Regions from separate parts of the Homo sapiens genome. Here region 2 is linked to region 1. The links are contacts of gene promoters, found by promoter capture Hi-C in human tissues and cell types (Jung and others, 2019). All regions are on one chromosome and are shown on one strand. The core of a region is centred on a gene start or on the middle of the fragment in contact, and the rest is flanking DNA. Distances in the headings are between cores, read along the strand shown. Region 1 holds the start of NMUR1 (neuromedin U receptor 1). Region 2 overlaps PDE6D (phosphodiesterase 6D).

Evidence for each region. The method cuts DNA at HindIII sites, captures the fragments that hold promoters and counts their contacts. A contact is called where the count stands out against the background at its distance.
Region 2: a fragment that was not itself captured here is called in contact with the fragment with the promoter of NMUR1 in region 1 in 2 of the 25 tissues and cell types used here (aorta and lymphoblastoid cells).

Annotation. Positions count from the first base shown.
Region 1 is chr2:231,527,215-231,532,506 of GRCh38, forward strand. It overlaps NMUR1 (neuromedin U receptor 1), which reads right to left and starts at 3,231. Exons shown (of 3, transcript NM_006056.5): 1 at 3,145-3,231; 2 at 909-1,803. The coding sequence starts at 3,147. LOC105376787 (a long non-coding RNA gene) reads left to right here and starts at 4,956. Exons shown (of 4, transcript XR_001739928.2): 1 at 4,956-5,292. RefSeq lists enhancers at 639-1,166, 1,167-1,693, 4,183-4,917 and a silencer at 3,059-3,488. The HindIII fragment of the contact is 18,375 bases long and covers 1-5,292 here.
Region 2 is chr2:231,773,662-231,778,953 of GRCh38, forward strand. All of the region lies in intron 1 of PDE6D (phosphodiesterase 6D), which reads right to left. Among named protein-coding and RNA genes, the nearest start is that of PDE6D, 5.0 kb to the right of the region's middle. The HindIII fragment of the contact is 7,341 bases long and covers 1-5,292 here.

The DNA of each region.
Region 1 (5,292 bases), core at 1,981-4,480:
CGCCCATCAGAATCCTTCTTGGGATTTTTCACTCATCTCTAAGGAAAGACAGCAGTTCCTCAGGAAAGAAGATGGCGTGCCGGTGGCCATGCCTCACAGGCTGCTGCCGAGAAGAACAAGGCCAAGACACGTTAATAACCAAAGAGAGCCGGGTGCAATGGCTTATGCCTGTAATCCCAGCACTTTGGGAGGCTGAGGTGGGAGGATCACTTGAGACCAGGAGTTCAAGATCCGCTCTGGCAACATAGTGAGACCCCGTCTCTACAAAAATGAAAAAATTAGCTGGGCATGGTGGCACCTGCCTGTAGCCCCAGCTACTTAGGAGGCTGAGTGAGGTAGGAGGATCGCTTGAGCCTGGGAGGTTGAGGCTGCAGTGAGCCGTGGTCACACCACAGCCTGAGTGACAGAGCAAGACCCTGTCTCAAAAAAAAAAAAAAAAAAAAAAAGAAGAGGAGAGACCTGAGACCTGGAGGGTCCAGATCCCATTTTCTGTCATCCTGGAGCCCAACCACATGCCCTGCCCTTTCTGTGTTTTGGTTCCAGAGCCAGGGCCCCAAGTTTAGCAGGGTCCTGGGCTTGGTTTAATGCTCTGTTGTTGCTGTCTTGACATTCTTATTCATTTTTGAAAAAGGGACCCTGAATTTTCATGTTGCACTGGACTCCACAAATTACACAATCTTACCGTTAGCCATTAACAGGTATTTTTGGTGTAAGATTCTAGTAGGGTAATCTAAAAGAGTACACAGGAGTGCAACTCAGACACACACACACACACACACACACACGAGACTAGAGGAGTTCCTCGTCCCCCATAAACCCAGATACTCAGCCCCTTCTCCCAGGCCCCAGGAGCCCCAAACTCATACCCAGTGCCTGGCTCAGCCCCTCTTCCCAGCCGTGACACTTACACAGCATCTTGGTCACTTGTCTCCGGCCCCGATCGTGCTGCTGGAGCCTGCAGGTGTATCTGGACCTGGCTGCTGCAGAGCCCCTGCCCTTGGCCTCCTGCATGAGCAGCAGCCTCTCCCGCCGCAGTCGCAGCCCAATGAGCAGGTAGAGCACGCTCATGATGGCCATGGGCAGGCAGAAGAAGAGCAGCGCGGTGGTCTGCACTACCATGTTGTAGAGGGCCCGTGGGCGGACCAGCATGCAAACAGCTGAGTCTGGCACTGGGCCCCGGCAGGGCACGTGCAGCTGCCGGATGCCGTGCAGGCTGGTGTTGGGCAGGGAGCAGAGCATGGCAAGACCCCAGACGGCCCCAAGCACTCGGCGCACATGGGCCCGCGTCACCATGGACCTGGCCTGGAGTGGGTGCACCACGGCCACATAGCGTTCCACGCTCAGGGCAGTGACGTTGAGCACTGAGGCCAGGCAGACCATCTCAAACAGTAGCGTGCGGAAATAGCAGCCACCAACGCCCAGCAGGAAGGGGTAGTTGTGCCACATCTCATAGAGCTCCAGGGGCAGGCCCACCAGCAGCACCAGCAGGTCCGACACGGCCAGGCTGAAGAGGTAGTAGTTGGTAGGCGTGCGCATGGCCTTGTGGCGCAGGATGACCAGACAGGTCAGCCCATTGCCCACAGCGCCCACCACGAAGATCAGCAGGTATGTGGCACAGATGGGCATGAACAGCTCTGTCTGCTGGGGCCCCAGGTACTTGAGTCTCAGTGCCTCGTCAGTCAGGTTCAAGTCCTCAGGGTCAAAGTGCCCCCTGGCCGCACTGCCATTGCAAGCCATGGGGTTCCTTGCACCCCCTGGGTACAGGTCTCCAGGGAGGACAGAGCAATTGAGGCAGAGAGGAGTCTGTGGAACAGAGGGGAGAGATGCCCAGAAAGATCATTCAGGGAATGCTGGCTCTGTCCTCACTCATCAAGCCAAAGGTGACATTAGCGCTATGATGACCATTATTTTAGGCACCACTGAGAAAGAAAAAACTCTTCCATCCACAAGTCAGAGATGTAAAAATAAGCTTGGTGCAGTGGCTCACACCTGTAATCCCAACACTTTGGTCGAGGCAGGCGGATCACTTGAGATCAGGAGTTCAAGACCAGCCTGGCCAATATGGTGAAACCCCGTCTCTACTAACAATACAAAAAGTAGCCGGGCGTGGTAGCACACGCCTGTAATTCCAGCTACTTGGGAGGCTGAGGCGGGAGAATTGTTTGAACCCAGGAGACAGAGGTTGCAGTGAGCGGAGATTGTGCCACCGGACTCCAGCCTGGGCAACAGAGAAAGACCTTGTCTCAAAAAAACAAAAAGCAAACAACGAAAAAGTAAAAATCTACATTTAAAAAAAAAAAAACACGTGGGGTTTTGATTTTAAATTTCATGATCTATTGGAACCTTTGAGTAAATGACAGATCTTGGGTGTCTCCTCTTTCAAGCAATGATGCTAGATGAGGCACTCGTTTGGGCATCTGTAAAATGGGCACAATGCCTGGTATTGCAGGGTCTTCAAGAGCAAGCGCTCAGGAAGCAACTGCCTGGATTCGAATCCAGCCTCCCCAGTTCCAGGCTGTGTGACCTTTAGCGAGGTAACCTCTCTGAGGCTGTTTCCCTATTAGGAGGATCCAGGGAGTTTAATCCATTAAAGACATTAACACAGGGCCTGCCTGGCATACGGAAGGGCACGGGGATCACCCCCTTGCTCTGGGGACCCAGTCACTATGAGAGTCAAGTGAGGGAGTGTCAAGGCTACACACTACAAATGCTTCATCCACAAGTTGATTCTTTTTTCTGTTTTCTGTCACCTGAACTGTTCAGTCTCCATATTTGACGCCCTTGGCACTGCCAGTTCTGGGGTTCCCTCTCCTCTATTGAGCCCCACACCCTTCCTCCCGCCCGCCCTCACCCCCGCTGCACAGCAGCGCGGGAGCCTCGGGAACCAGTTGGGAACGCGCAGGCGCCAGCCCGGGTTCAAGGGAGGCGCCCTGGTCCTCGAGGAAGGGTCGCAAGCCCGCAGCCCCCCGGCGCCCCTGGCCGGAAGACACAAATGACCCGAGAAGTTGCGAGGCTCCCCGGTGGCGGGGACGGGGGGCACCCCGACGGAGCCCTCGGACCCTTCCCGCCCTAGGACGACCCTGCCCGCACCGAGCCCCGGCCCAGCTGCCGCGCCCTAGCCCACGCCGGCGCCTGCGCACCTACCATGCGGCCCGCGGCCCGCGAGACCCCGGCTTCCACCCTCCGAGCGACGGACACAGACGCGGCGCGGGAGCCAGTGGACTGACTGACAGCGGCCCCAGCCCGCGCCCCGACGCCCCGCCTGTCCGGCCGGGAACGCCGCCAGGGGGCAGTGCAGTCCCCGCAGCCCGGGCGGCGCCCCCTCCCGCACTGGCGGAGGACGCGGCCGTTGGAGGCGACACCTCCACAAGCAGCGTGGAGGCGACACCTCCACAAGCAGCGTTATCTGACGGAACCCTCACAACAACCCGTTTTACAGATGAGAAAACTGAGCCTCAGAGAGCCGCAGAGGAGGAGCCCGAGAGACCTGGGGCTCACATGTGATTCCCGCCCTCCAGCGTGCTGAGTTTAGCTTAACGCCGTCACGGTGTCCCTGCGGCCTCCAGCTCCTCCTGCCCCCCATTCAGACCCACCTCCAAGGACAGGGACGGCCCACCAGCCCCTTGAAGTCGACATGCCCCGGTGCGGTTCATCCTCCCAGGCTCCAGGCCTCTTCTTCTGTCCCAAGGCCCATGATTGCAGCCTCCGCAGCCCCTCTCACCCGCTGCTCCCTTCGGGGCCTCCAGTCCCTGAGTCCAGGCGCTCGGCCCTGCAGGACTGGGCAAGAGCCCCCTATTCTCCCTCCAGTCCATCCTCCCACAGCCACCAACGACCATCACCCCCTCGAAACCCTTCCTTGGGGCCCCCCCACTGCCTTCTGAAAAAGAGCACACCAAAGTCTAGCCTGGGGGTGGACCTCCCCACTCCTCACCTGCCTCCCTGGGCCACCCTCTCCTCACCATTGTCCTCAGCCCCAAATACTGTCCCCCTTATCCGTTCAAATGTTCTTCTGCCCCCATCACTGTACCAAGGGTGGGGGTATAGACAAGGATGGAGGGAATTTAGGGAAGGGTTAAGAATGCCCAGCCACAGCCTCCTGCTCCCCCACACTGCCCACATGCAAATCCCAGTGCCTCACCTGCTCCCACTCCCTAGTCCTGCAATCAGCTCCTTAGCTGGAAGCTGTTTCATCAGAAACTTCTAGGGACCCTAGAAATGACGGATCACACAGAGTAAAATGCTGGTTCCGGGGCCTTTGCCCAGAGTTTTGTCTCCTTAGCCTGGGCAAGGCCCAGAAATCCTCATGTTTGACAAACGCCCTCTGGAGAGCCCCATGCCCCAGAATCACACTGAGGAGCACCAGGAGAGGTTACAAAGCCACAGGACCCCGAGAGGCCACCGTGAGCTCAGAAGCTCTGTGTGCCTCAGTTCCCCTTCCTGTAGAATGGGCTAACCACCATCGCCACTATTGTGAAGGTGACATGAGACACTGAGCGTCAAGATTCAGCACAGGGGCTGGCACATGGCCAACACTCAAGAAATGTGGGGTGGGATTGTCACCATTTAGTGGCAACTGGAGGCTCCTCCTTCCCCCCGCTTTCCTGCACCCTCCTCCTCCCCACTGCCCCCCAATTCCATAAGTCACTGTCTGGGCTTGGGGATGGGAGTTAGGCCCTCAAGGAGCCTGCACCAGGCCGGCCTTCCCAGGAACTCCACATGTAAACAGAGTCCCAGGCAGGGGACGGTTGTGGGAAGTGCAGGGGCACGTGGTCCTCAGGGCCTTGGGAGAAAGGATTCTGTGGTGCCCTGGGAATTAACTACTCAGCCCCTGATGAGCTAGTCCAGGAGAAATCCTCAGTAACAGGGCTGCCAGCACAACAGACGGGCAAGGAGGGATGACATCACTCAGCATCAGAGACCACTGTGGCATCACAGGCTGCTCTTAGCAAGTGAGGAGCATTTGGACCCCAGCCCTTCACTGGAACACACACACACACGCACATGCATGTACACACACATACACACACATGCATGCACACATCACTCTGCACATACCACACCACACACACGCGCACACACATACCACTCTGCACAGACTCTGAGCAGTCCGAAAGTCCCCGTGGACCCTTTGGTTCACACAGCCCTGGAGGGGATGGGGAAGGACCCACCTAGCCTTGCAGAGGCAGAATGACTCTTGCCAGTCAGGAATTCCTACAGCGGGTTGCATCATTCACATAACATTAGCAGCCATCAAAGGCTAAAGAGCAGCCCCCAAAAAGGAGAGGCTCAGTG
Region 2 (5,292 bases), core at 1,094-3,593, 250 kb after region 1:
ATGGGAGAAGAAATGTAAGAAAACAAGTGAAAGATGCTTTCAGAAACCTTCTGAGCCCAAACTCTTTTTGCTAACCTGCCATAAATTAGAATGAGATTCATTTTCTAGACAAGATAAACATGAGGTATATATCAATGCTTATTGAATCATTTATTCAGAGGCAAAATGGAAATACGATAGTTTTTCAGTAAGAAAATATAACTAGAATGAAGGCATTAGTTATATCTCAGAGAAATAAGTAGCTTTACAATCATATTAACACTATTGTCATTATTATTATTATTATTATTGAGATGGAGTCTCACTCTGTTACCCAGGCTGGAGTGCACTGGCGTGATCTCGGCTCACTGCAACCTCCACCTCCTGGGTTCAAGCAATTCTCCTGCCTCAGCCTCCCGAGTAGCTGGGATTACAGGTGCACACCACTACGCCTGACTAATTTTGTATTTTTAGTAGAGACGGGATTTCACCATGTTGGCCAGGCTGGTCTTGAATGCCCAAACTCAGGTGATCCACCCACCTCGGCCTCCCAAAGAGCTGGGATTACAGGCATGAACCACTATACCTGGCCTGTCATTATTATTAGTAATTATTAATAAAATGAATGGCAGCAGATATTACTATATGCCAGGCCCTGAACCAAACATCTTTTATGCAGTTTCATTTAATTCTCAAAACAACCCTCTGATAATATGAGATACAGATGCTGAGGCTCAGAGTCTGAGTGTTCTGTTGAGAGTCACAATAGCAGAGGCAGTAAGTCTAAACCTTGGAAGTGAGCCCATACTCTCAACCACTGTGCTATATACTCTACTGCAGTAATGTGTAAACATTTGATAGATACCAATTACTTTCTACAGACACTACACACACACACATAAACCAAATGAGAGTGCCCCTTTCCCTCAATGTTGTGAACACTGAATATTATCTTTTTTTTTTTTTGAGACTGAGTCTCTCTCTGTCACCCAGGCTGGAGTGCAGTGGTGCAATCTCGGCTCATTGCAACCTTGGCCTCCCAGGTTCAAGTGATTCTTCTGCCTCAGGCACCCTAATAATAGCTGGGATTACAGCTGTCCACACCATGCCCAGCTAATTTTTGTATTTTTAGTAGAGACGGGGTTTCACCATGTTGGCCAGGCTGGCCTCGAATCCCTGACCTCAAGTAATCCGCCCACCTTGGCCTCCCAAAGTGCTGGCATTACAGGCATGAGCCACTGTGCCTGGCATCTTTTTTTTTTTTAATAAATTTTTATTTTTATTTTTTTTGAGACAGAGTCTCACTCTGTAGCCCAGGCTGGAGTGCAGTGGTGTGATCTCAGCTCACTGCAACCTCTGCCTCCTGGGTTCAAGCAATTGTCCTGCCTCTGCCTCTTGAGCAGCTGGGATTACAGGCGTGTGCCACCAAGTTTGGCTAATTTTTTGTATTTTTAATAGAGAGGGAGTTTTGCTATGTTGGGCAGGCTGGTCTCAAACTCTTGGCCTCAAGTGATCTGCCCACCTTGGTCTCCCAAAGTGTTGGGATTACAGGCGTGAACCACTGTGCCTGGCCTAATTTTTAATTTTATTTTCGTACAGTGCCACTTTCAGGATATACATATATATTATCAATCTTTTAAATCTGTGTCAATTAATTGGGAAGAGATAGTCCATTATTATTATTATTGACAGGGTCTCACTCTGTTACCCTGGTTGGAATGCAGTGGGGCACAGTCTTGGCTCACTGCGACCTCCACCTCCCAGGCTCAGGTGATCCCCTCACCTCAGCCTCCCAGTAGCTGGGACCACAAGCATGCACCACCACACCTGGCTAATTTTTGTGTGTGTTTTTTTTTTTTTTTTGTAGAGGCGGGGTCTTGCCATGTTGCCTAGGCTGGTCTCAAACTTCTAGGCTCAAGCAATCCACCCACCTTGGCCTCCCAAAGTGCTGGGATTACAGGCATGAGCCCCTGCACCCGGAAGATAGTCTATTATTTTAACAAGGTTGAGCATGTCCTCATTTATTCATTGGTCATCTGCTTTTTCTTCTAGGAACTGCTTGTTCATATCCTTTGTCCACTTTGAGTTAAATGCTTATCCTATTGATTTGTAGGCAGCCATTTATATTCTGGATATTATAATATCTGACGTATAAATGAATTAAATAAATAAATGGAGACAATAAGCCAATATTAAAAAAAAGCTACATTACTACTCTGTATCTTATACCAAAGAAAATTCAGATGGATTAAAGATAATGAAATCATAAAAGCATAATTCATTCTTATGGAAGTCTGTCAGTTTCTTGTTAATTTAATAAAGTTATATTTTTATGTTGATGAAAAAGCTATTCAAATAGGCAAAACAGTAGATACAGACTATACTAGAAAGCTAGTATAAGAGTACTGTGACAAATGCTAGGTGCAGTGGCTCACGCCTGTAATCCCAGCACTTTGGGAGGCCTGAGGTCAGGAGTTCGAGACCAGCCTGGCCAACATGGCGAAACCCCCTCTCTACTAAAAATACAAAAATTAGCCGGGCGTGGTGGCAGGTGCCTGTAATCCCAGCTACTTGGGAGGCTGAGGCAGGAGAATCGCTTGAACTCCGGAGGTAGAGGTTGCAGTGAGTTGAGATCACATCACTGCACTCCAGCCGGGGTGACAAGAGCAAGACTCCGTCTCAAAAAAAAAAAAAAAAAAAAAAGAGTACTGTGACAAATCTGTCAGTGAAAGCAACTGAAAGTAACTATCTTTGGAAATCATAAACATGGTAAATCTATTATTAAGTGAACAAAGTAAGTTACAAAGTGATATTTACAATTCCATTTTTATAAAAAACACATTAAACATTAGCTACATTAGAAGGCTATATTAAATAATATTTACAAAGGTCACTCTAGGTGGCTGGCGTTTGTAATAGGAAAATTAAATAGAATTTTAAAAAATGCATTGCTTTTGAAGATATTCCTTCTAAACAGACATAAAGCTGGTTAAGCTTCTGGAAAGAAGGGACTGTAAGTTATTCATTTTTGTATCCTTCAAGTGTAGAGTGCCCTATACATAATAGTCACCCAACAGACCTTTGTTGAAGGAACGAAATGGGAAACGTGGGATTTACAAACATCAATCTCTATGTCAGCTGCTTAAAATAATCAAATCCAAAATATTTGCAGGAGAATCATATTGTTCCCCAAGTAACATTTCATTCATAACATTAATTTACAATTAGGAAATGTTATGCTTTTAACAAACAAGAAAGAAATGCAAGGTTCTTAATGTGTATGAGAGCCTTGCATTTCTTGAGAGGTAGTATAGCGCCACAGTCCAGTATAGCTCTTAACCACTATGCTATATTACCTTGTATGGATCTAGGGATCCAGGAAAATACAAATCGAAACAATGTGTTGTCCAAACTGGCAAAAATAAAAAAGATTGACCTAGTCAACGTGGAAAACTGAGTACTATCAACACTGTTGGCAGGAGATCATAATGGTGCTCTTTTTGTAGTGATAAACTCTTCTCACAAAAACAGATACTCTGAAAGAGGTAGGGTGAGATGGGGTGAAGGTGATACAAGAATAAAATCTTATAAGATTTTGTTTTTGAAACAACTGATGGCAAATACAAAGCTTCTACTGAATTCACTCAGACCATGCCTAATTTATGCATACAGTATTCACTTTTATGCAGTATCTTTAAATTTTTTTTTTTTAGAGTTGGGGGTCTCGCTATGTTGGCCAGGTTGGTCTTGAACTCCTGGCCTTGAGCAATCCTCCCACCTAGGCCTCCCAAAGTGCTGGGATTACAGGTGTGAGTCACCATGCCCAGCCAAGTCCTCATGTTTCTATCTACTATGGGCATATGGGCAAGCTTCCATGTGAACAAAAGGGGCACATATTTGTAGGGACCTTAAACACACATATTATGTTAGTCACAGACCATTCTATTGTAAACTATACTAAATCATATTATAAAGCTATAATAATTCAATCAAATGTGTATAGGTACAAGAAGAGACAAATAGATCAATGAAACAGAAATAATCCAAAAAAAAACCTATGTCTTATGAAAATTTAGTATATGACAAGGATGGCATTTCAAAACAGTGAGGAAAAGATGGACTAACTACTTAGTAAATAGTACTGGAACTATTGGCTATCCAAACAGCAGAAGTACTTAGATGTCTACCACATACCAAATGTGTAAATACGTTCCAGGTGGATTAAAGAGCTAAACATTGAAAAGAGAAGAAAAGATAGGATATTTAGTTAATCTTGGGATAAGAAAGATCTTTTTAAACAAGATACAAAATGCAAAAGCCAGATGGCAAATATTAATAAATTTGAGGCCAGGCACGGTGGCTCATGCCTGTAATCCCAGCACTTTGGGAGGCAGAGGCAGGCAGATCATGAGGTCAGGTGTTTGAGAACAGCTTGGCCAACATGGTGAAACCCCATCTCTATTAAAAATACAAAAATTAGCTGGGCATGGTGGCATGCACCTGTAATCCCAGCTACTCAGGAGGCTGAGGCAGGAGAATTGCTTGAACCTGGGAGGCGGAGGTTGCAGTGAGCCAAGATTGCGCCACTGCATTCCAACTTGGGCAACAGACCAAGACTCCGTCTCAAACAAATGAAATAAAATAAATTTGAAATGACAATTTAAAAATTCTGTTCAACAAAAAAGGAGACAATACATTGAAAGAAAATATTTGCAAAATACATAATAGGCAAAGGATTGATATTACAATATGTAAAGAACATCTACAAATAAGAAAAATAAACAATAGTAAAATGGGCAAAAACAAAATTAACAAACAATTTACAGAAGAAAAAGAAATGGCCAAATAGAAGAGATGTGCAACTTCTCTAATAATAACAAGAATAACACTGGCTAAAGCATAATGCTCACTGTGGATCAGGTGCTTTTCTAAATGCTTTAGATATCAACTCATTTACTCTTACAGCCCCATGAGATAGGTACTATTATTTTCCCCATCTTACAGATAAGAAAATTGAGGTGAGGTTAAAGCAGTTGCTCAGGGACACACAACTAGGAGCGCAGGGCTGGAATTCCAATGCAGGCAGTATAGAGACATAGTCCAGTATAGCTCTTAACCACTATGCTACATTACCTTTTCATGGATCTAGGGATCCAGAAGAATACCAATTAAAACAATGTATCATTTGTTATCCAAACTGGCAAATAAAAAAGACTGACCTAGTCAACGTGGAAAACTGAGTACTATCAACACTGCTGGTGGGAGAACATAATGGTGCTCTTTTTGCAGTGATAAACTATTCTTACAGAAACA